7 separate regions of the Homo sapiens genome follow, and regions 1, 2, 4, 5, 6 and 7 are each linked to region 3. The links are contacts of gene promoters, found by promoter capture Hi-C in blood cells and fetal thymus (Javierre and others, 2016). All regions are on one chromosome and are shown on one strand. Each heading gives the region's core, a stretch centred on a gene start or on the middle of the fragment in contact. The rest is flanking DNA. Distances are from core to core; before and after follow the strand shown. Region 1 overlaps SMCHD1 (structural maintenance of chromosomes flexible hinge domain containing 1). Region 2 overlaps SMCHD1 (structural maintenance of chromosomes flexible hinge domain containing 1). Region 3 holds the start of MYOM1 (myomesin 1). Region 4 overlaps SMCHD1 (structural maintenance of chromosomes flexible hinge domain containing 1). Region 5 overlaps DLGAP1 (DLG associated protein 1). Region 6 overlaps SMCHD1 (structural maintenance of chromosomes flexible hinge domain containing 1). Region 7 overlaps DLGAP1 (DLG associated protein 1).

Evidence for each region. Contacts are between HindIII fragments. The CHiCAGO score rates a contact against its expected background, and 5 or more counts as called.
Region 1: a fragment that was not itself captured here is called in contact with the fragment with the promoter of MYOM1 in region 3 in 1 of 17 cell types (megakaryocytes); the score reaches 5.4 in megakaryocytes.
Region 2: a fragment that was not itself captured here is called in contact with the fragment with the promoter of MYOM1 in region 3 in 2 of 17 cell types (activated CD4 T cells and naive CD4 T cells); the score reaches 6.1 in activated CD4 T cells.
Region 4: a fragment that was not itself captured here is called in contact with the fragment with the promoter of MYOM1 in region 3 in 3 of 17 cell types (megakaryocytes, activated CD4 T cells and M0 macrophages); the score reaches 7.4 in megakaryocytes.
Region 5: a fragment that was not itself captured here is called in contact with the fragment with the promoter of MYOM1 in region 3 in 4 of 17 cell types (naive CD4 T cells, non-activated CD4 T cells, total CD4 T cells and 1 more); the score reaches 6.3 in naive CD4 T cells.
Region 6: a fragment that was not itself captured here is called in contact with the fragment with the promoter of MYOM1 in region 3 in 1 of 17 cell types (megakaryocytes); the score reaches 7.7 in megakaryocytes.
Region 7: a contact is called between a fragment that was not itself captured here and the fragment with the promoter of MYOM1 in region 3, in 1 of 17 cell types (neutrophils). The highest score is 5.6, in neutrophils.

Annotation. Positions count from the first base shown.
Region 1 is chr18:2,708,674-2,712,353 of GRCh38, forward strand. All of the region lies in intron 17 of SMCHD1 (structural maintenance of chromosomes flexible hinge domain containing 1), which reads left to right. Among named protein-coding and RNA genes, the nearest start is that of SMCHD1, 55 kb to the left of the region's middle. The HindIII fragment of the contact is 775 bases long and covers 1,314-2,088 here.
Region 2 is chr18:2,797,590-2,801,213 of GRCh38, forward strand. All of the region lies in intron 47 of SMCHD1 (structural maintenance of chromosomes flexible hinge domain containing 1), which reads left to right. Among named protein-coding and RNA genes, the nearest start is that of EMILIN2, 48 kb to the right of the region's middle. The HindIII fragment of the contact is 1,587 bases long and covers 1,128-2,714 here.
Region 3 is chr18:3,217,971-3,221,475 of GRCh38, forward strand. MYOM1 (myomesin 1) reads right to left here and starts at 1,998. Exons shown (of 38, transcript NM_003803.4): 1 at 1,833-1,998. RefSeq lists a silencer at 1-295. The HindIII fragment of the contact is 10,525 bases long and covers 1-2,778 here.
Region 4 is chr18:2,729,582-2,733,079 of GRCh38, forward strand. SMCHD1 (structural maintenance of chromosomes flexible hinge domain containing 1) reads left to right here. Exons shown (of 48, transcript NM_015295.3): 25 at 2,684-2,911. Among named protein-coding and RNA genes, the nearest start is that of SMCHD1, 76 kb to the left of the region's middle. The HindIII fragment of the contact is 1,741 bases long and covers 1,268-3,008 here.
Region 5 is chr18:3,663,066-3,666,589 of GRCh38, forward strand. All of the region lies in intron 7 of DLGAP1 (DLG associated protein 1), which reads right to left. Among named protein-coding and RNA genes, the nearest start is that of DLGAP1-AS6, 12 kb to the left of the region's middle. RefSeq lists a silencer at 2,704-2,998. The HindIII fragment of the contact is 2,180 bases long and covers 1,059-3,238 here.
Region 6 is chr18:2,749,222-2,752,810 of GRCh38, forward strand. SMCHD1 (structural maintenance of chromosomes flexible hinge domain containing 1) reads left to right here. Exons shown (of 48, transcript NM_015295.3): 31 at 822-901; 32 at 1,129-1,286; 33 at 2,057-2,172; 34 at 3,267-3,331. Among named protein-coding and RNA genes, the nearest start is that of SMCHD1, 95 kb to the left of the region's middle. The HindIII fragment of the contact is 2,871 bases long and covers 321-3,191 here.
Region 7 is chr18:3,702,413-3,705,903 of GRCh38, forward strand. All of the region lies in intron 7 of DLGAP1 (DLG associated protein 1), which reads right to left. Among named protein-coding and RNA genes, the nearest start is that of DLGAP1-AS6, 51 kb to the left of the region's middle. The HindIII fragment of the contact is 2,126 bases long and covers 551-2,676 here.

The sequences.
Region 1 (3,680 bases), core at 451-2,950, 510 kb before region 3:
GGCACAATTTAGGCTCACTGCAACCTCCGCTTCCCCTGTTCAAGCAATTCTCCTGTCTCAGCCTCCTGAGTAGCCGGGATTACAGGCACATGCCACCACTCCCAGCTAATTTTTGTATTTTTAGTAGAGATGGGGTTTGATGGGGTTTCATCATATTGGTCAGGCTGGTCCCTGCTTCTATTTTCAATAACTTCATATATATATATATATATATATATATATATATATATATATAACATATTAACATGAAATTTATGAAGTGGCATTAAGTACATTCATATTGTTGTGCAACCATTACCACTATCCATGTAAAGCATTTTTTCATCATTTCAAACTGAAACTCTATAGTAATAACTCTTCATCACTCCTTTCTCCCTGCCCTGGTAACTACTTTTTAACTTTCTGTCTCTGAATTTGACTATTTTAGGTACCTCATAAAAATGGAATTATATTTGTCCTTTGTGTCTGGCCTGTTTCGCTTAGCATAGTGTGTCAGAATTCCCATTCCTTCTTAAGGTTGAATAATATTCCCTTGTGTGTGTATATATGTGTATATGTGTATATATATATATATATACACACACACATGTATACACATACACCATATTTTGTTTATCCATTTGTTTGATGGATACTCAGGTTACTTTCACCTGTTGTCTATCGTGAAGAATGCTCCTGTGAACATCAGTGTACAAATAGTTCTTTGAGTCTCCGCTTTGGTTCCTTTTAGATACATTCCCAAAAGTGGACTTGCTGGGTCATATTATTATTTAATTTATTGAGAAACTGCCGTACTGTTTTCCACAGTGGTTGCCTCATTGTACATTCCAGTTTCTCCATGTCACCCCCACTTGTTATTTCCTGTGGGTTTTTTTGTGGGGGACGGATAATAGCCATCCTAACAGATATGAAGTGGTATCTTACTGTGGTTTTTTCCCCCCTTTTTCCTACTAAAGATAATTGTGGTTTTGATTTGCATTTCCCCAATATTCAGTGATTTTGGCCATCTTTTTATGGGCTAATTGCCATCTGTATATCTTCTTTGGACAAAGGTCTATTCAGGTCCTTTGGCCATTTTTAAATTTTGTTGTTGAGTTGTAAGAGTTCTTTATAATCCTGGATATTAATCCCTTATCAGATAAATGATTTACAGATATTTTCTTCCACTCTGTGGGTTGCTTTTTCACTTTGTCAATGGTGACTGTGATGCACAAAACTTTTTAATTTTGACAAACAATTAGTTTCTTTTTTCTTTTGTTGGCTGTGCTTTTGGTGTCTTATCCAAGAGATTGTTACTAAATTCAGTGTTACGAAGCTTTTCCTGAATGTTTTTTCCTTACAAATTTTATAGCTTTAGCTCTGTTGTTATTACTTTGATCCATCTGACCTTGACTTTTGCATATGGTTAACTTCTTTTTATATGGAAAACTTCTTTTGCCTGTAGATATCCAGTTTTTCCAGCACCATTTGTCAAAGACTATACTTTCTCTATTGAATTGTTTTGGCCCACTTGTTGAAAGTCAGTTGACCACATATGTGAGAATTTATTTCTGGGCTCCCTGTTCCCTAGGTCTATATGTCTGTTCATATGCCCATGCTGCACTGTTTTTGTTTACTGTAGCTTTGTAAGTTTTAAAATGAGGAGGTGTGAGTCCTCCAACTTTATTCTTGTTTTTTAAGATTGTTTTGGCTATTTGGGTCCATGGAGATTCCCTATGAATGTAGGATGCGTTTTTCTATTTCTGCAGAAAACACCATTGCGATCCTGGTAGGGATTACACTGAATATGCAGATCACTTTGAGTATTATTTTTACCTTAGCAATTGTAAGTCATTCAATCCGTGAACATGATTTTGTATCTGCAACTTTGCTGAGTTTATTAGCTATACCAGGGTTTTTTTTATGGATTATTTAGGTTTTTTCATATATGAACATGTCATTTATGAACGGAAATAACTTATTCTTTTCCAAAGTGGATGCCTTTTATTTCTTTTTCTTACCTAATTGGTCTGGCTAGGACTTAAAATACTATGTTGAATAGAAGTAACCAAAATGAGAATCTTGTCCTGTTCCTGATGTTAGAGGAAAAGCTTTTAAGTCTTTAACAGTTGAGTACATGCGATGTTAACTGCGGGTCTTATATAAGGCCTTTATCATGTTGAAGAAGTTTCTTTCTATTCCTTGTGTAGTGTTTTTATCATGAAAGAGTATTGTTTTCCCAAATGTTTTCTCTGCATCAGTCCAGATAATTATGTAGGTTTATTCTCTCAAAGTGATGTATTGCGTTGATTGGTTGTTTTTTGTTTTTTGGGGTTTTTTTTGAGACGGGTTCTCACTCTGTCACCCAGGCTGGAATGATGCGGCACAGTCGTGGCTTACTGCAGCCTCAAACTCCTGGGCTCAAGTGGTCCTCCCACGTCAGCCTCCTGAGTAGCTAGGACTACAGACATGCTCATTGCACCCAGCTAATTTTTTTTTTTCTTTTTATCAATGGATGAGAGTTTTTTAAAAATATTGACGAGGTTGGCCTCGAACGCGTAGCCTCACCTCCTTATGCACCAGGACAACTGCCCTGAGCCACCATGGCTCCCTTTTTTTTTTTTTGTGGTGGAGACAGGGTCTCCTATGCTGCCCAGGCTAGTCTCAAACTCATGGCCTCAAATGACCTCTTGCCTCAGTCTCCCAAAGTGTTAGGATTACAGGCATGAGCCACTGCACGTAGCCTTGTTTGTTTTTTATTTGTTGAGCCATGCTTGCATTCCAAGAGTAAATCTCACTTGGTTGTTATGTATAGTTTGGATGTTTGTCTTTTTTTTTTTTTTTTTTTGAGACGGAGTCTCGCTCTGTCGCCCAGGCTGGAGTGCAGTGGCGGGATCTCGGCTCACTGCAAGCTCCGCCTCCCGGGTTCACGCCATTCTCCTGCCTCAGCCTCCCAAGTAGCTGGGACTACAGGCGCCCGCCACTACGCCCGGCTAATTTTTTGTATTTTTAGTAGAGACGGGGTTTCACCGTTTTAGCCGGGATGGTCTCGATCTCCTGACCTCGTGATCCGCCCGCCTCGGCCTCCCAAAGTGCTGGGATTACAGGCGTGAGCCACCGCGCCCGGCCTGGATGTTTGTCTTGATCCCCGGTGTTGGAGGTGGGACCTAATGGGAGGTTTTGGAGTCATAGGTGCACATCTCTCATGAAGGGCTTATTGTGTGAGTTCTTGCTCTATTATTTCCCATGAGAGCTGGTTGTTAAAAAGAACCTGGCACCTCCCTCACCCCTCTTTTGCCATATGATCTCTGCATACACTGGCTCCCCTTCACCTTCCACCATGAGTGGAAGCAGCCTGAGGCTTTCACCAGATGCCCAGTCTTCCAGCCAGCAGAACTGTGAACCAAATAAACATCCTTTTCTTATAAATTATTCAGCCTCAGGTATTCCTTTACAACAACACTATATAGACTAAGGTGAGTTCTTTTAAAATTGTGCTGAATTTGGCTTGCTAGCATATTGTTGAGAATTTTTGCATCAATATTCATAAGGGATTTTGGTCTGTAGTTTTCTTTTTCCTTTTTTTTTTTTTTGATGTCTGTGTCTGACTTTGGTATCAGATAATGTTGACCTCAAAGAATGAATGAGTTAGGAAGTGTTCTCTCCTCTTTAAGTTTTTGGAAGAGTTTGAAAAGGATTGG
Region 2 (3,624 bases), core at 671-3,170, 420 kb before region 3:
GTAATTCTATGCAGTAGAGGGACAATTTAAAAAGTAAACTTTTTTCTATTTGTAAGGAATTACAGTGGCTTATGCCTATAATCCCAGCACTTTGGGAGGCCGAGGCAGGTGGATCACCTGAGATCAGGAGTTGGAGACCAGCCTGGCCAACATGGCAAAACCCTGTCTCTACTAAAAATAAGCCAGTCATGGTGGCGCACGCCTGTAATCCCAGCTACTCGGGAGGCTGAGGCAGGAGAATTGCTTGAACCCAAGAAGCGGAGGTTGCAGTGAGCTGAGATCGCACCATTGCACTCCAGTCCGGGCAACAAGAGCATAACTCCGTCTCAAAAAAAAAGAAAGAAAATAGGGAATGAAAAAATGATGAAGTAATAGAAAATAATAGGGAAACAATATCAGTTGTCTGGAGAGATGCATTGAAACAGAGAACTGAAGGATGGGAAGGAACCAGCCATATAGGGATTGGTTTCAGTCAGAGGTTGGGAAGGAGGCATGATGCTCTAAGAAAATAACAGGTGTGGCATGTTTGAGGAACTGAAAAGATGTTAGTGTCTAAGGCATGGTATGGTATGCAAGAGGGAGAGGACCAAACTATTGTCGGACATAGAGGCAGAGGCCAGATTATGAAACTCCTCCCTCATCATGTTGCAAAAAAAATCTATTTTAAGTTCATTGATATCTCTTGAGTATCACACATGTAGGCATGTGAATGATGTGTTCATGGGCATGAGGTGTATACAGACTATTAAGCTGATCATTCAAAGTGTGTTGGGGCAGTTTAGCATCAGAAAGAAAGACTCTTTGCAGTGGATTTAGACATGTAACTTTTAGAAATTATGAGTTCAAAATGACGCAAAAATCCCTTATTGGTCATCATTGCTGGTTGGTAGGGCACCTGCTTGTGACTGTGAAAATTTATGTATTTATATAGAAAAGACATGTGTATGAACTATCTTCCAGGTTTCCAAATAGTTACAGAAAGTTCTTCTTTGTAAAAGTTATTCTTTGTAGAAAGTTCTTATATTGGTTAAATAATATGGTGTCTGGGATATACTCTAAAATACTCCAGGAAAATAAAGTGGCAGAGGATATCAAAATAAGACTTGGCAAAATGTTTTCATTACTAAAGCTTGAAATAGGAAATTCACTGTATTATTCCCTCTGCTTTTATATAGGTTTGCCATAATTTTTTAAAGAAGTATTTTATGAACAGTGGGATTATTTTTTAGAGAGACCAGAACCCACTTCCCACTAAGGAAATTCCTCAAGGTGCAGTTCTAGGCTAAGATGTAAGGTACATGTTTTTGTGCCACAGTCTCAGCACTAAATTTGCCCTAGACCTTCCAGTTACTACAGCGCTACTGTGGACATTGATTTGGAACTTGTTAATTAAGATTTTGTAGCAATTCAGAGGGAGTTTATGTTTTAGTTTATAATATTGTTAGTAGTATAATGATCATCGGTCATATGTGTATATATCAAATGGTATAGATTTACAGTGTTGTACTATACGTGAGTCACATATATAATTTTAAATTCTCTAGAAGCCATATTAAAAAGGAAAAAAGGAACAGTGAGATTAATTTTAATAATAGATATTATTGAACCCAATATCCAAAATATTTCTACATGTAAACAACGTTAAAAATGATTAATGAGCTATTTTACATTCTTTTTTTTTAAATACAAAGTCTTCACAATTCAGAAGACAGCAAATCTCAATTAGGACTAGCTACGTTGCAAGTACTCTGGAGCCACACACATGGCTGGTGGCTACCGTTTTGGACTGCACAGGTATAGAAAGAGCTGATGATCGTAAAATCTTGTATCCTATGCATCCTTACCCCTATTCCATCCTTCAGAGGCAACCTTTGTTTTAACTGTTAATTTTTAGTTACTCTATTGTTGCCTCCACTTTTAAAAGTTACATTATTATGACTATGTAAATATTGTTCAGGCAAATATTGTACTAAGCAAACTTGTGTGCTAGAATTACACTTCCTTCTCTATATGGGTCTAATGTCATGACTCTTACTTAGGCCACCAGTTAGTGCTCCAAACATCAGGCTCAAATAAATCTTCCTTACTCTGTTATTCTTAAAATCACGTGAAGTGTTATTCCAATTGTTACTAAGACTCTTTCTTGTTAATTTTTCTGGAGTTTTTAATTGCCACCTTTTTTTTTCTTTCCCTATGTATCTTAATCACATCTTCTTCCTCCTGTACCAGTGACTAGTAACTGTGCAGGCCTCCTGTAAATCTGCCATCCTGGGTCTTCCTTAGTTACTCTCTTGGATTATATCCATTATTTATTGGATTCCATGTCTTTCTCTCTCTTATAAATTCCTTAGAAAAAATGTGTAGAAAGATAACTTGGAGCCCTTCTATGTCCGAAAAATGTCTTCATTTTGCGTTCACGTTTGATTGAGGTTTTCTGGAGATAACAGGATAGAAACAAGGCTAGAATATACTAGAGGTGAAGGGATTGGGAAATAGTCTAGAAATAATAGGAGACAGTCTGCCTGATTTAGCCCCAGAAACACTTTGGATTCAGAGTCAGTTAGAACAAAAGAGTGAGAAGTCCAGCAACTCTCCCTGTTTGGGAGTCCTGTCTCCCAAACAGGGAGAGTGGCAAATAAAAAGGACGGAACAGAATGGAAAAGGAAAGGAAGCCACAGCCTAGAATGTACCAGATTTTCAACCCAAACTTTGAAAGCTTTGTTTCCTTGTCAACAGGCATGAAAAGATGCCACTACAAAGTTAGATAACAATGGAAATGAATTAAATGTTGGTATATTGGCTTTTGGTAGTTGCTGGCACACTAGGACCTAATGCTGGCCTCTGGGAACTAAAAGGCTGATAACTGGCTCTGCACCTGCACATTTATCTATTTTGATTTTAATTCAACAATTTTTACTTTATTTATTTTGTAGAGATGGGGTCTTGCTGTGTTGACCAGGCTGGTCTCAAGCTCCTGGGCTTAAGCTACTCTCCTGCCGCGGCCTCCCAAAGTACTGAGATTACAGGCCTGAGTCACCATGCTCGGCCCAACATCCACATGTTTAAAGCAAAACCTGTGGACCCATGACGTTGATTTGCCCTATCCCAGTTATAGTTACCATCAAGTCCCACTCGGAGAAGAGACTTGTTGGTAAAACAGTTCTATTTTTATAATAGTAGAAGAAATTCCAGCTAGCAATGTAATCCTCTTTCTTAAATGTAATTGTACAACTAACAGTCATCACACATATGAGGGTAGCCAGCAACGTGAGAGACAAAATTCAAGATTAAGTTCCAAAATCAACATGGAGGACAATTTAGTAAAGAGACTAGACCTCTTTTATAAAATTATAATTACTATGTAGCAGAAAGGAGCCAGGACAAGAATGAATAAACAGATTACAAATATTGTTGCTGAAATAAAAATGTTCAATAGGAGGATTAAAGTCCAAAAAGAAAACTTCCCCAATACAAAAAGAGATAGAAGACATAGAGAACCAATTCAGACTATTAGGAATCTAGAAAGAAGAAAATGGAGAAGGAAATGCTATCATGTGGAAGAGGATTTCCTAGGGATGAATAAAATTCATTGAATGCCCAGCAACAGTGACTGACAAAATACTC
Region 3 (3,505 bases), core at 748-3,247:
AAAAAACCTGTTTGCTCTATAAGGAACATGCAGGCTTCTAGTCTCCCTACTTAAAGAGGTAAGAGAGTCGATTCCCAGGGTGACAGCTGGCATTGTGAACTTGAGCTAGCAGTTCTACTAAAAGTCAAAGGTATGTTTGTTTAGCATAGGGTGGGGAGATGTCACATGGCCTTAGCATTCTTGAATAGTTTATCCACTGAAGCAGGCCTATCAGCCACGTTGACAACCCTGGATGAAGTAATAGTTTTATAAAAGCTCCACCCCCAAGTGTTTTAATGCTGTAGAATTAGTTTTAAAGTGATCTGTTTTCTCCAAATGTCATTTTTAAAAAAATTCAAAATGAAGAATGAATCCTTCTAAACTCAGCATATTCTTTGTCAAGTTTAAAACTACTTTTTATTTAAACTATTTTAAAAGTCAGCATGTATTCCCCAGAGAAGAAAACTGAGCAAACTTCACTCCAGAAATATTTATCTTAGGGTTCATGGAAGATATCAGTCTACAGGGCATTTCCTAAGGGAAAAAAATAGCTACTAGCAAGCAACTTTGCTTCAACCCTTAAATAGATGGCTATTTTCTGTTACAAAATATGGAGGATAATTACCATGTATAATTAATAACTACTAGATGAATTTTGATAAAACAAAGGGGTTAGAAAATGTTAATACAGAATTACGTTAGGCAGTTATAAAGATATTAGAGAAGTTTCTGTTATGATACTACATTGTAACATGGCACATGTTATTTGAATGATTTTTCAAATAAATAATAAAGAAACTTGTTATGTTATAAACTAAATTCATTCCCCAGATGACTTGAAATGCTGTTATTTTCACAAAATAAAATCTTTAAATATCTTGCCCCAATACTATTTTTTACTCTCTTTATTTCTATTTCTCCCAAATACATTTATTTTTAATAATACTTACTATTCCTCTCACATAGATAGTAAGTTACAAGTAAACAGGGTTTGACTTGAAGCCCACATTGCTGATTGTCACAGCCCTGACCTCTGGAACAAAGGTACAACCACCTCCTCTTCATCAAGTAAGCCCTTGAAGTTAACTAAAGCCAGGATTAGCTCCAACACATGACGGCTGGAGTACGTTGGGAGGAAAGATGGTTTTAGTGTCTTTTGTTTCTTTAAGACCTAAATTTTCTTTCTGAAAATAATTTGAGAATTTAGGAAGAAATACAAATTCCATAGCTGTAATTTATGATACTTTTGTGCAGGCATTAGAGGGCAGAAGCTGATGAAAACGATTCCCAGAAAAATCACTATGTGGGGCTCTATGTTGCCTCTGAAATATTACTTAACCATTTGAGGCCATATCATTGTGCGCGCTCACATTTATCCACATTGCATCGTCACAGCAAGATCCCTGAATTATAAACTAGTGACTTCAGAGTTAATTTTCCTTCTTTCGGTCTAATTTGTAACCAGGGAGCATTGTATGGCACATGCAGGATTGAAAATGCAGGGCCTCCTGTCTCTCATCCATTTCAGATTTCAACCAAACCGTACTTGGAAATAGCATTAAACACACGCTTACAGTTCAATCCGAGGCAGATATGACCTCCTTACAGTTCCAGGAACAGCAGCTTAATTTCAGAAGAATACAGTGATGTGAGAGAAGAGCTGTGCCAGCCCGACTGGCACCCGGCTGTTCTGGTTTCCCTCCCTGGAGCTTCACTTTCCTATTTCTCTGTTATTCTGACATCTCTTTGAGAAAACTGCTGAGTTCAGAAGACAGAAAGAAAGCACTTACACTGCACTGCTGCTAAGCTCATAAGCTATCAAGTGCATTCTTCTGCCTCAGTGTCACACTTACCAGTTTCCAAAGGAGTAATGGTGGTGGAAATGTTCCGATGAGGCCGAGGAGCTGGATGAGAGAATGAAGACTCCACCTAGGTTGAATCCAAGACAATGTTAAGAGGCAGGGCTAAAGACAGGACCCTGGGGGCCAGTTCAAAAATAATGCATGTGGTCAGGCAGTCGAATGTCAGGCCACACAACCAGCCTTTTATGGCCAAGAAGGCAGATAAATATAGCAGCAGATGGGGAGGGTAGTTCCAAACCAGGAGGAGGAGAGGGGCATGGGCAGGTAGCAGCCTTAGTAATATAATTGCATAATGCCGGTCAATGGGTCTGGCCCGATTAAACCAAATATAGGGTTTTTATTTGGCAACAAGAGTTATTTTCAATGTCACTTTATCAGTAGATAATTTAAAAGTGTAATGGAAAGAGTGGTTTGTGTTAACAGCTAAAAATAGGTGTAGTAATATGATTCTCAAAATGGACTTCGTGGAATTTTAATGCCAAGATATGATTCTGAGTGTGCTGTTAACAACACACGTACGGTACATTTAAAAGATACAATGTGAAAAAAGAACTTGAAGCTAACTAAAGGCAAAACAAGGAAGAAATGGGTTACACGTGGTGGCGATTTTTGCCTGACATCACGGTCACTATTTCTCTCACTTCAGGAAAATTTACAAGGTTAAGTCTTAGCTTCAAGCCTGAATATGTGATTTCCTGTTCATTAACTAAAGCCTTTTGAGACGCAACTCAGTGTTTTATCTTTCCTAACTCAGAGTAGGGTCAGTCCATCTAATAAGAGATTCTCTTTCTTTGTTCTTTAAATGGTGTGACCAATTAAGAGGAGGTGTAACCCGGTTGTGAGAGCCTGTGTTGTGGATTCAGACCAGATCTAGATCCCACTATATTGATAGCACTTAGTAGCCATGTAATCTCCAGCAATTTATTTCTCCTTCCTAAGCTTCAGGTTTTTTGTCTATAAAATGGGGATAATCATATCCAAATTATAGGATTGCTGTGGTGATTAAATGTGATACTGCAGACAGAGCACTTGACCTAGTGACAGTCACATAATATAGACTCAGTAAATATCAGCTGTTATTACTGATACCAATAATATAAAAGCTCATTGTTAGATTACATGTATGCAGCAGGTTGGTATTTTGATCTACTGGCCTTATGTTCTGACAGTGATATTACATCAACTGAATAAAGGTCACCTGTGTCTATCAAAATTGTTTTTCTTTCTGAGACAGGGTCTCACTCTGTTGCCCAGGCTGGAGTGCAGTGGTGCAGTCTTGGCTCACTGCAACCTCTGCCTCCCAGGCTCAAGCAATCCTCCCACCTCAGCCTCCCGAGTAGCTACAGGCGCATGCCATCACACTCGGCTAATTTTTTTTTTTAACTCTTGGTAGAAATGGAGTTTCACCATGTTGCCCAGGCTGGTCTCAAACTCCTGGACTCGAGTAATCCACCTGCCTCAGTCTCACAAAGTGCTGGAATTACAGGCGTGAGCCACTGCACCCAGTCTCTATCAAGATATTGAACAGACTCAATATTATAGTATACTTCATCATGACTTTCTTGATGATAACTACAGTTAACACTGTTGAGGACCTATCCAGTGCCAGACACTGGGATAGGCAGTTTATATACATGATCCCACTGACTTATCATACCTTGCAA
Region 4 (3,498 bases), core at 888-3,387, 490 kb before region 3:
ATTTTGTGTCAAATATTAGTAATTGTCTTGATTTTTACAGTGTCTTTTATAGTGTCTATAACTATTATTGATTTACATTTCCCTAAAATATTTTTCTTCTATTAAAATACATAATTTTATTCTTTCGCTTTTTTTTTTTTTTAAAGAGATAGGGTCTCACTCTGTTGTCTAGGCTGGAGTGCAGTGGCACAATCATGACTTGCTGCAGCCTCCAACTCCTAAGCTCTAGTGATGTGCTCACCTCAGCCTCCCAAGTAACTGGGACTATAGACAAGGACCAATGCACCTGGTTATTTATTTATTATTTATTTTTTGAAAAAGAGGGTCTTGCTGTGTTGCCCAGTCTGATCTCAACTTCCTGTCCACAAGCAGTCTTCCCACCTTGGCCACCCAAAGTGCTGAAGTTATAGGTGTGCACCACTGTGCCCAGCCATTTTGCTTTTTATCGTTCTCATTTGTTTTAGAAAGCTTGGTAAATATCTCTGTTTAAACCACCATGGAAGGACATATAAACCTTTAATTTTTGTATGTAATTTTCTATACACACATAGCTTTTTATTTGTGTTTTTACACAAAGGGATTTTTTTTATTTCTATTTATATTTTTTGAGATGGAATCTTGCTCTGTTGCCCAGGCTGGAGTACAGTGGCACGATCTCAGCTCACTGCAAGCTCTGCCTCCTGGGTTCACGCCATTCCCCTGCCTCAGCCTCCCCAGTAGCTGGGACTACAGGCACCCGCCACCACGCCTGACTGATTTTTTGTATTTTTAGTAGAGATGGGGTTTCACCGTGTTAGCCAGGATGGTCTCGACCTCCTGAGCTCGTGATCCACCCACCTCGGCCTCCCAAAGTGCTGGGATTACAGGCGTGAGCCACCGTGCCTGGCCCACAAAGGGATTTCTATATCATGTGCCAGTAGGATGCTTTTTATTGGTGATTCATCGTGGCTGATAGCAAAGCCAACATGGAGGCAAGAGCTGTAAACAATCTAAGGTTGTGGAGTGGGATAACAAATACTTAAGTAAAACTTCAAAGGTTGCTGAGTAGGGTAACAGATACTTAAGTAAAATACTTAAATGTGATTTCTTAGTAATTGATATGGTGATAGATAATCTAATTGGTTGATTAACTCATACTTTCCTACTAATTATACATCAGTTATTAACATAGCTTGAACCTCAAATGGATACAAGATGTCTTTTACTTTTTAAATTAGAATGAGATGACTCTTCATTCCAGTTCTTTTTAAGCTTGTTATATTTGATAAGCTTAAAGTATTTTTTATGCATTTTCTTTATGCAATAATATGGGCAACATACTTTTGAGCACACTTTCTTGCAAAAGATGACTATGAATTAGGGAGGAATCTGGACTTGGAGGCAAGAGCAGCAGGCATTAGGACTTTTGTAAATACTACAGACCACTCAGGAGAAGACCAAGAATTCAGGTCAGTTAAAACAAATGCCAACGTAAATCCTCTAATAGGCAGTTACAAAATGTTATCCAATGGCAATAACTGAGTTTAGGAGTAAGGCAAGTAAGATACAACAGAAGATGGTTATGTGCCTGACATTCCATGAGGTAGGAATTTTTAATATCACTCACGTGGATAGGCTTCCATAAGTTAAATGGCTGCAACTGGATGAGGAAGGAGACATGAGTTAAGTAAGATTATAAAGGTATTTTATGTTTAAACTTATTTTAAATTTAGTGTGTGCTGTTGAATGGACTATAACTAGATTATGAAATAATGTAATATTTTAATTTTGTGTGCCTAAAATCAATTTATATAGCATAATCTTGGTCTTTTCTTTGATCTGTAGAACACTGGTATGCCAATAATAAATTGTAAATATGCCAATATGTTGACCAGTTGTCTTCAGGGCATCTAGAGGCCTTCTCTGGCTATAAACAACCTTGATCACTTACCCCAATGTGTTATGAATTGAAAAAATACTGAAAGCCTTAATGTAATCTGTTACCATTAAATAATGTATTTTATGGTAGCTGTTTGTCTCTGATTTTATGGAAAGTTCTTAATTTCTTACATCTTTGTTCTTATTCATAAATACTAACAGAGTATGTAACATAATTAAAATTTCACAAGATGGCAATACTTTTAAAGAAACTTGGAAATAAGAGGAAGGGACCGGGCGCAGTGGCTGATGCCTGTAATCCCAGCACTTTGGAAGACCGAGGCCAGTGGATCACCTGAGGTCAGGAGTTTGAGACCAGCCTGGCCAACGTGGTGAAACCCATCTCTGCTGAAAATACAAAAATTATCCATGCATGGTGGTAGGCGCCTGTAATCCCAGCTACTCTGGAGGCTGAGGCAGGAGAGTAGTTTGAACCCAGAAGGCAGAGGTTGCAGTGAGCCAAGATCATGCCACTGCCCTCCAGCCTAGGAGGCAAAGTGAGACTCTGTCTCAAAAAAAATAAAAAGGAGGGGAATCCTTTTAGTCCACATACAATTGTTTTTATTTTAAGAATGTGGCCACTGCCATTTATAACCTGATGGTATAAAATACGGAATTATTAATAGTATAATGCCATCTTAATGACAAAACCTGTGAGTATAACAATGTATGAGATGGTCTTCCATAATATTGAAAGTAAATTCTTCAGGAGTGTAAAATTTCAGTACAGATATCACTCAGTGTTTGTGTTTTCTTCTCTTTCTAGAGTTGTAAAGATGTGGCACCTGTGGAGAAGACTATTAAGTTGCTTCCCAGTAGCCATGTTGCAAGACTACAAATATTCAGTGTAGAAGGACAAAAGGCAATTCAGATCAAACATCAGGATGAGGTTAATTGGATAGCGGGTGATATTATGCATAATCTTATTTTTCAAATGTATGATGAAGGAGAAAGAGAAATCAATATAACATCAGCTTTAGCAGAAAAAATTAAAGTAAGTATCTCTAACAGATTGGTTATTTGTAAGAACTTTTTAAATTTTATGTTTGTAAGACTGAACAAGCCGTTTTATGGGTAGCATCTAAAAAAGAAGCTTGTCACAGAAAAGTTATACTATCATTTCAAATTGTAAGCAGAATAAGCTTTTTTCATGGAATAGGTTGAAATGCAAATGATTCATATGTGACAAAATTATACTTAGAAAAATGATTTTGACACTTAAAAATCTAGGTTTTGGCATTTTGTTTAGTTGTGCTCTTCCTGACTAGCTGTTTTTCTGCAATCATAATCAACATCACCACCTTGATAAAGCTAGCAATAAATTGGTAGCAGTTCTGAAAGCACTAAACAAAAGATCTGTTAAAGGCAAGCAGTGAAACAGTGTTGTTAACTACAGAGCCTCTATTTGGCCATTGGAAATTATTGAAATTGGTATACCACTCTAAAAATATGATCCTTAGAAAAGAGTTTTGTTGGTCCTCATCAACCTGCTGTCATCTAAATATGACATTTGTACCTTGATAGGGTTGAGTCTGCATGTTGAAACTTAACACCTCACTGAACAGGGAGCCAAATCAAAAT
Region 5 (3,524 bases), core at 899-3,398, 450 kb after region 3:
GTTCGAGATCAGCCTGACCAACATGGTGAAACCCCGTCTCTACTAAAAATACAAAATTAGCCGGGTGTGGTGGTGCATGCCTGTAATCCCAGCTACTTGGGAGGCTGAGGAAGGAGAAATGCTTGAATCTGGGAGGTGGAGGTTGTAGTGAGCCGAGATCATGCCATTGTACTTCAGCCTGGGCAAGGAGAGCAAGACTCCCCCTAAAAAAAAAAAGAACCTGAATCTCAAACTTGAGCTTGAGATAAGGTTTTTGAAGTCTTTAGAAGGGGTGAGTATATTTTGCCTTACAGAAGATGTGAATAATTTGTGTCCAGAGGCTGAAGCATGGATGACTAACGATGACCACAGATTATTTGAAACTCTTCCTATTGAGAAGTGGCATCTTCGTTATTCCCTTTGGTCTGAGTGGGCTTGTGGACTGCTTTGGCCGTCACCAAGAATATGAAGGAAAAGATGCTCTGCCAGTATCTGGGCTCAGACCTTAAGACCTTAAGATTTCCTATCTCTTGTATAGGAACTGTCTCTGGAAGCCCTGAACTGACATGTAAGGAGTCTTGAAGCCGCAAGGCTGGAGGTGCCAATTACAGGTGCTCTAGTCAACAGTTACCATATTGCTACTGATCAGGAGCCCACACTCCCAGCCATTGAAATGAAGGTGCCAGGCATGTGAATAATGCTGTCTTGGACTCTCAAGACCAGCCCAACTGTGATGGTTAGTTTGTGTGTCAACTTGACTGGGCCATGAGGTGCCCAGAGATTTGAACAAACATTATTTCGAGTGTGTGTGAAGGTGTTTCTGGATGAGATTAACATTTGGATCAGTTCATTGAGTACAGCAGACTTCCCTTCCTAAGGTGGGTGGGTCTTGTCCAATGAGTTGAAGTCCTGAATAGAACAAAAAGACAAAGTAAGAGAGAATTCTCTGTCTCTGCTGGGACATCAGTCTTCTCTTCCCTTTGGACTTCGACTTGAACTGGAACTTACACAATTGTTCTCCATGTTCTCAGGTCTTTGGACCCAGATTGGAACTATACCATTGGCTCTCCTGGGTTTCAAGCTTGCTTGCTGACTGCAGATCTTGGGACTTCTCAGCCTCCATAATTATGGGTCAGTATACACACACACACACACACACACACACACACACACCCACACACACACACACACACGGATATACTACTTCTCTGGAGAACTCTGACTAATACACCAACTTCTAGCTGAATGTGGAACAGAAGAATTGCCCAGCTGAACCCTGCCTAAATTCCTGATTCAAAATCATAAGGTATAATATAATGATTGTTTTTCAGCTGCTCCACATTGGGGTAATAAGGTATGTAGCAACAGATGACAGACATAGTCAGCTGTGCATACATTTTCTGACTACACATGTGCCCTGTCCCTTAGCTCTTGGTACTCCAGCCACATCACCCTTTCAGTTCTACTAATATTGAATGCAGAATTAGCACGTGCCATCCCTCACCCTTCTTGATCCTTTGACTCTTAGCTAATGAGGATTTTCTCAGGGAAGTTCTCCCTGAGCCTCTAGATTAGTCCCTTTGTTACAATAGATCCTCCCACAAGAACTGTCTCTTTCTTTCAGCGCAGTTATCTCTGTGATTATTTGATTGACGCTAGTCTCTACCCCTAGATGGTAAACTCCATGAGAACAAAGGGTAAGACTGCTTTTGATCACCAGTGAATTCCCCGAGTTCAGCACCATGTCTGGACATAGTAAGTGCAGAATAAATATTTGTTAAGAAGGTGAATGAAATATTTGAAGCAGCTGATAAAGACTCCCTTCTCACCATAGCTTTTAATAACCATGTCAATATTCTTTTCTTTGCACCTTGTGAAAATCTGGGTTCTCAGCCATTGTAACTGGGAAAGACTGTGACTTAATATGAGGCCACTGGTCCTACTATGCTATTGTCTGTGACGGCAGCTAAGCACAACTGAAGTTGCTGGAGTTCCTTTTTGTAACCGCTGGGGAAGAGGAAGCACAAGAGAGCCTCTGGGTGTGTGGGCGCAGGAATGCATAGAGAAAAAAGTAATTAGTGCCTGTTCACATTTATGTCTTTAGTTGGAAATTAGGGAGCTCTCCTAAAAGTCTAAAGAAAATCGTGGATGCTCAAACTGTTTAAAATGTTTCTAAATTTAAGTTTAGAAACAATTTGTTACTAGATCAGGAGCTCTTCCCCCTCCCCCCAACCCCTTCCTCTAAAAATGGAAGAAATAATTGCTGCTTCCTTAGTGCTGTTAGGAAAATTCTGTACCTTCCATAACCATTGCTCTCAGTATTATTTTCTTAATACCTAATCTGAATTCCTACTGTTTTAAAATGCATTCCCCTACTTAGCTCTACGGATATGGAAAATACATGCTCCGCTGGGAATAGTCTTTCTTAAAATATATCTGCTCTGCTTAAAGATTAGTTTATCATTTTTGCCACATATAAAATAAGCTCAGGTCTCTACAAGTGCCCTTGTAATTTCCATTTCATAAATTTAAAAAATATTTTGTTTTACCTCGTTATATTTCTAATAGTGACCTCCAAATGGGTCTGTGTACGATATTTCATTAAATGGGTTTAGTAGGCTTCCAAAGGGAGAAAAGAGGATTTCCATTTCTGCATAATATTCTTGCTCTTTTAAGAAGAAAACACCTCTACAGTGGCAGGGCTAATATGTCGACAGGCATATTCCGTATCATTTATGTAAGTTAACACATTCTGAGGCTCTGCCCATTTCCACTTCTCTGATTTGTCCTCCCTCCCTGAGTGCACAATACTGCATTTGTCCCTTTTGAACATGTAACAGATTAAAGAGCTGGGCAGGAGGCAGATGTAGGGGCACCTTTGATCTCTCATCCTTGGAGGTTAAGGGAGGGCAGACACCTGGCGGCTGCCGAGCTGGAAACAAAACACAGGCCCAGACTGGAATTACCTTAAAGGGAGCCCGGCTCCAACCGCAGAGGCAGCTGGAAGCGCTGAATGGGCACCGGGGGAAGAGAGCCCCGCGGTCAGGCAGAGGACGCAACAGAGTCCTAACAATGTGATCCAGGCTACCCGAGAGCTGGTTAGAATAATCCTTCCTACGCAGAAAGACCCAGGAAACCTTCCAGGAAAGACTAGGCAGCCGCATTGAGAAAAAACGAAAAGTAAATCTTTTGCAAATAATATCACAAAACTTCCAGCTGTGCACAAATACTGAAGGGCAATTTTGATGACAATGCAGGAAGCTTTCAAAGAAAGGATTTTTAAACATATTTTTTCCTTGGCGGAACTCTTTTTAGTAAGGATTTCCACCTTTGCCCCAGGATCCTGCCAATGTTCTTAGTCAAAGCCAGACCCGAGTTTCCTAGGATTCTTCGGTGAAACTGCATTGCCCCCTGGCGTTTGTGTGCTGTCATTACGCCGCACAGATAAAGCCCATGGAACACCTACCAATCCGAGGAAGGATGCAGCTCCTGGTTTCATCTACATGGAGAAACCTCTCTTAAAACACAGGATCAGAGAATGCAGT
Region 6 (3,589 bases), core at 506-3,005, 470 kb before region 3:
AAGTACCCTTTCTCATTTTTTCCTGTTCAGCTATTGCTTTTCCTGTCTGCATGTACCATTATTACCTACTCTTTAGGTTCTATTAAGTTGAGATGGGTTTTAGGATTTGGGAGAAAGTCTGATTTTTCTTCTACTGTGGTCTACAAATTCACTGTTATTCTGAATGTTTGCTTCCAGTAGAGTTAGACAATGATTACTTTCAACCCCAGAATAAAGATATGATTCTAGTTTCTGGAGAACCATCTGTAAAAGGCTGAGAGACCCTTCTAGACCAGTTATTAGGAAATGTGGCCACTGATTCTTAATCTCTTGAAAGTGAAAGCTTGGTTATCACTGTGAATGTAGTATTGCAGCAAAAATTTGAGAAGTGTATCTGAGTAGACTTTCAAGAGAAAAATGAAGAATGAAGATAGTGCTATGATGCTTTGACTTGAGTATGTGTGTACAGTATATATTTCTCCAGTGCAGTCCCCTATACCTGCCCCAGCTTTAGAATATACCTTCTGTGTTTGTGTAAACAAACTTCATTTGATCTATCAGTGATATTGAAACAGTGAACTAGAAATCTGCAACTTAGTAACTGAAATACATTAAATTCTAGTGAAATTGATCAAGATGAGTGATTGTTATTCTACTTTGGATTATATCATTACATACTACATTATTCCAACTAGTTCAGATTTTTAAAATTTAGATTTTAGAAGTATGCAAATACTGCTTTTAAAATAGGAATAGAGGGAAAGAACATTGTAATGGAAGAAAAGAACTTGATTGATCTCTAGAATTTTCTAATTAACCATTTTGTTTTGTTTTGTTTTTAGCTCATGCCTTCAAACCAACAGCATAAAACAGATGAGAAAGGCAGGGCTAATTTGGGAGTATTCAGTGTTTTTGCCCCTAGGTAAGAACCAAAAGTTTGATAGTTGTTGGTGTTATAGAGATTCGTTTTTCTTACTGCTTGCCGAAGTTACAGCTAATGACTATCCTTCTGTTTAATGTTAGGCAAGAGTTGGGACTGAATAGAAGTTGAGAGGTTTTTCTAAGAGTTGAACTTTGCATAAATTGTCTCAGAATTTTTAGGTTATTAACTAATGTAATTTGAACCCCTCTCCTCTTTTGTTTTGTTAGGGGAGAGCATACTCTTCAGGTTAAAGCCATCTATAACAAAAGTATCATAGAAGGACCTATAATTAAGTTAATGATTCTTCCAGACCCAGAAAAACCCGTTCGTCTCAATGTTAAATATGACAAAGATGCATCCTTCTTAGCAGGGGGTCTTTTCACTGGTGAGTATTTCACATACATAAATAAATCTATAATGATAATTTGCTTTGTACATTAGTGGAATAAATTACTTATCCTAGGTTAAGTGTGCTCAGTCTAATGTAGGAGACAGGGAAGCAAATGATTTCAATATCATGTTGCAGATGTTAAGTCAATAGGAAATTAGTTTTTGTTTTACACAAATAATTTTCTGGAAGACTTCTGTTTTCTTAAAAGGATGAATCCCTATACATAGTTTTAAGTAGTGAATGAAGCACCTCAAAGTTTAGATTTAAAAATTGTTGACAATAATTTTTAATAATCAAGTTACATGTATACATAGCTTTTTTTACCCTATAAAGTAGACTATACCGTATATAAAGTTTTAAATCTATTTCAGGGAGATCTATTTCCTGTGATTAAAAAATTAGTAACAGGTGCCAAATGAATGTTACAGGTGGTAAATATAATGGGAATATTATATATATTGATCTTTTGGCTATTATATGCTATCGAAAATCATACAAGAAAGTAAATATTCTGTTCTTGGAATACATAAAGCATATGGTGCTATGACCAATTGGCCTAACTCTTAAGTTGCTGAGTATACATTCTAGTCTTTTTGGTCTTGTATGCTAGAATTTATACATTTCTTCATCAGAATTGTATTAACATTTAAATAACGTGTGCTTTAAACATTTAAATAAGATGTTTGCTTTAAGGCATACAATTATTTAACCATATCCATTAATTGAACTAGAAAGAGATAATTTTTTAACGTTTACCATGACAGATTTTATGATTAGTGTTATTTCTGAAGATGACAGTATCATTAAAAACATTAATCCAGCACGTATTTCCATGAAAATGTGGAAGCTGTCTACCAGTGGGAACCGACCCCCAGCAAATGTGAGTCATGGGAAGCATTTTTTGAAGTTAAAAATAGTTCTTACATTTAACTTAAAACTAAGTCTCCTTTAATGTAAATATATAATGTTATATAAATTTGAGAAATGGAAGTGAATTTACTTCATTCCTTTGGGGTTAAAGAAATTACATCAATGTATGTTTCAAAATTAAAGATTGATGCTATTGAAAAAGAGTAGTCTACATTGTGATGTTTCTTAACATTTTAAGATGCCTACACATTAAAATTATTTCATCTGAAGGACAGTAGCACAAGGCAGAAGCTATTAAATATGAGGGGATAATATAGAAAATGAGATAGTAAAGAGATAGGATTGATAGACTGCTTGAAAGAGAGTGGAGAGTTAGAGGGTCTAGAACAGTGCTGTCCAGTGGAAAGATCATACCTGGTGTTTCTGCTTTCTAGTAGCTACATTTAAAAGCTAAAAAGAAATAAGTAAAATTCTAATGTTTTTAACCTAATATATCAAAAGTTACCATTTCAACATATATTCAATAGTTTAAAAATTATTGCTAGGATTTTACGTTCTTTTATCTTACCAAGTCTATGAAATTTGGTGTTTATTTTACACTGTATATCAGTTCAGACCAGCCACATTTCAAGTGCCCAGTAGTCACACATAGCCATTGGCTACCATATTGGATAATGCAGATCTGAAATAAATCTAAAATTGGGAACTAAAGTTTATCAGTGTCCTGATATAATAATCTACTTCAACATTTATGGTTCATTTTAATCATTGGTTTTGGAAACTATCTTGCTTAATTAATCCTGAATCTTTGCTTGCTTAATTTAGACCATCAGTCCAATCAAGTTGGTATTATCTTTAAATAATATCACCATAAAGTTCTACTGTGTGTCTTTTAATAATGGGGTGTCTTTCCACTGTCACTAATCTCACATTGTACCTTACATGTATTATGAAGATATAAACGTGTGTATATATACCTGTATGTTTATAAATGGAATCCAGATACACATTCAGTTTAGGTATATAATAAGCTTTCCTCCTAAGTATACTATGTTAAATTTTGTCATTTTCCCCTCTCCCCTTCTCTCCTACTCCCCTTTCTAGGCAGAAACATTTAGTTGTAATAAAATAAAAGATAATGACAAAGAAGATGGCTGCTTCTATTTCAGGTATTTCTCAAAACATTTCATATTTTGAATACATATCTTGTTACAAAGTAATTCAACCCTGGAGATATATGTGGGCTCACCTGAGGAAAAGTAATTTATGATCAAATAGAAATGTTAGTGTCTCTAAATTTTTCTCAGTTTTTTGGGAAAAGGTGTGTTTTCGTTTTTAAGCATTAAATTGGTTTTAAGCTTTGTAAATTGTAATTGTATTTGCTTTTGAAACTATCGAAGCCATCAGAAGAATTCTTTTATGTTGTC
Region 7 (3,491 bases), core at 364-2,863, 480 kb after region 3:
TCAAAACCAGGAAGGCATAAATTGCTACCTTTCTATGGGATGGCAATAGACAAGTTCCCAAGAGAGGCAGCAACAGACCCCTAGGGGAGAGCCTGGCAGGGTTGTGGACTTCCTGCATGCAGGCGCCCTAGGATCCTGGGCTTCTTCCTAGACCCTTCCCTGGGTTTGAGAGACAGGGGAGCGAGGCAGGCTATGGGATCCTATATGTATCATCTTAGAAGTAATCAGATACAACAAGGTAGCTGGCATCTTAGCAAATCACACAGCTGGAAGACTTTAAGTAAATCTCTGTGGGGAGCCAGAGGGCTCAGATCTGGAAGGAGACAGCTGCTGGATGAGGAATAAGTAACAACTGAAAAGTCAGGGCAGCCCAGTGGCAGGCCCCTTACCAGTGGGGTTGAGGAGAATGACAGGCTCGCTCCTGCAGCCACTCAGGTACAGGCAGTTCATCCAGGAAGCAGTAAGGGACAGAGGGAGAAGAGAGAGGACAGGGATCCAAGTCCCAGAAAGGAGTATAAGATGGAGACTTTGTCTTAGAAATTGACATGAAAGCTTACTTGCTAGGACAAAGGCAAGCAAGGGTCTCTGGAGTGTTCTCAATTCTGTGAAGGCAGGATCAGCCCAGAGCTGGTTAAGATGTGGAGCCTGATGGTGCCAACAGGTCATGAGGCCATTCAGGGAAAACAAGGGTTAGGAAGGAGGATGGGGACCCAGGCACATGATGGCACTAGAGGTCCTGAATTCCAAATTCCAGAATCTTTGAAGTGGTGTCAAGATTGTGTCTCAGGATCACCGGATATAGCTGGTCCTTGGGATGGAATGTGGCGCTGTCCTGACAAAAGACCTGAACTTGCCAACTGAGAGCCTTTGATTCACGTGCTCTGAATTTTATTGCATTTACTCCAAATGCCACTGGGCAGTTGTCCATGCATAGGCTGGAGAAATTAATAGGAAGGGCAAGAAAACATGAGAAGTATCATAAAGAAATACTATAAAGGACAAATAAATGAGACTGGTAGTGAACTAGACAGACACAGAAAATAGAGGACAGAAATTCCCAGAACTGCTTCAAGCACGAAAGTGCAGTGGCCCTGATCTCTGTAGAAGGAGGAGTGTGAGGAGGATGTGTGTTCAGAGGAGAGCGAGTGGCTGTTGTCCACTTGTTTCTTTTTAGAAGACGGAGGGATATTTGAAAGTTCACTAGATATGGACACATTCTCTGCATTCTTCTTCTCTTTTCGTTCTTTTTTGTTTTTTGTTTTTGTTTTTTAATTCTAGAAAAGAATTGTTTCTTATTTTCCTCCCGAAGATGCAACCAAATGCCCTCTTTTCTGGAAACATTTTAGTTGCAGCTTCACAGACTCCATTTACGGTTGACATGCATTCTTTCCCCTATGAACACACCTCAGCAGCCGCCAGAGGGAGACTTTCCACACACGGTTTTTGCGAAGAGAATTTCCTTGGAGATTACTGCACCCTACATGATACAAATTCCTCCCCACGTTCCCCTTCACAGGCAGGGCTTCTAATCTTGACAGTTCCCAGAGCAGCAGTCATGGCTATATCAGGCAATTATACCATTGGGAACATTAGGGCTGCTTTGTAAAACCATAAGCACCCAAGAACAGATACTTTAAAAAATGTAAAAACAAGACAGCAGTGACAGCAGAAAGGACACAGCAGCTGAGTCACCTCACTGCATTTCTCCACATCCTAGCCCCTAGGAGGATGCTCTGCGGGGCCCACGGGAAGGGCTGAGTGCCACATGCCAGGGACCCCAGAGGTTGGCAAGAATGGCTTTGCCTAGAGACCATGCTTCCTTTCAGGTGTTGCAGGGAGAGGTGGCAATTCTGTTTCCCACATTAAAGAAAAAATTGACCGGGTGTGGTGGCTCATGCCTGTAATCCCAGCACTTTGGGAGGTCGAGGCAGGTGGATTACTTGAGGTCAGGAGTTCGAGACCAGCCTGGACAACATGGTGAAACCCTGTCTCTACTAAAAATACAAAAATTAGCTGGTGTGGTGGCAGGCGCCAGTAATCCCAGCTACTCGGGAGGCTGAGGCAGGAGAATCGCTTGAACCCGGGAGGCAGAGGTTGCAGTGAGCCGAGACTGCACCACTGCACTCCAGACTCCAGCCTGGGTGACACAGCGAGACTCCATCTAAAAAAAAAAGAAAAAGAAAAAATTAAATTTCATGACTTAGTGAGAAATGGTCATTTTGGGGGTCCATTGCTTGATTTTTTTTTTTAAATCTTCTTAAACAACTCTGAATTAAAATGTCTGAGAGAACACAGTGACTCATGCCTCTCCACTTCCCAGCTTTCCAACTGAGCAGCCCACTGGGTTGGAGGTATCTTGCCAAGAGGGAAGTATTTTTAATTTGGGCTTTATCTGTCACTCAGCTGTGGTCATAGAGACTGGCAGGAATGCATGCAATTAGAAGAAGAAAGAACACCTTTATGATTCCATAATATTAGTATTTAATGCCTTTTGGATGTTTTGGATAGCAGTCTTGTGTAAAGAGACAAGACATGAATACATGCAAAAGCAAATGAGAAAAGTCAGCATTTATAACACTATATTTGGGGATTCCAGAATTGGGTAATAGAGGACAAAAGTGTGCATCTCTAAGGAGTTATTTCTGTAGTTCAGTTCACAAACTGCAGAGTGGAATAAGCTTAGCAGATAGAAATAAGACATTCAGTTTTTTATTAGAAGAGAAACACACATAATTTGGTAGGGCTATTTAAATTTTTGAGTCAAACGAATTTTGTTGGCATGATGACTTCAGCGAACCATCTGCAAGGCTATCTGAAAGGACTCTAAAATAAATGAAGGGATTATTCCAGTTTATTTTGTGGAAAGAAACATTTTCAACTTTTCAGGCTACTTTTTTTTTTTTTTTCCAGGAAACTTCAGGGGGTTAGAATGCAGTTTTGCTTTGCTCTGTATACCTCCTTGTCAACAGCATTGTGCTTGTATGGTGCAGTATTATAGTTGCAATGAGTTATCTGTATTTATCCCTTAAAAATTTGCTGGAAAATATGGAGCTAAACATATCATACTGATTTAGTCGCAGTATAATTCTTCATAAAAGGCTACTCTGCCCAAACCATCAGACCCCAAGGAGCATTAAAATATTGTTTCACCAAGGGCCCAGGACTTAAACACAATTCCAGACTCAAAATGTCATTTTAACTAAGGTGACCATATATCCCAGTATAATAATAATAATAGTAATTATTATTATTATTATTATTTTTGAGACAGAGTCTTGCTCTGTTGCCCAGGCTGGAGTGCAGTGGCTCGATCTCGGCTCACTACAACCTCTGCCTCCTGGGTTCAAGTGATTCTCCTGCCTTAGCCTCCCTAGTAGCTGGGATCACAGGCCTGTGCTACCACGCGCAGCTAATTTTTGTATTTTTAGTAGAGATGAGGTTTCACCATGTTGGCCAGGCTGGTCTCGAACTCCTGGCCTCAGGTGATCCTC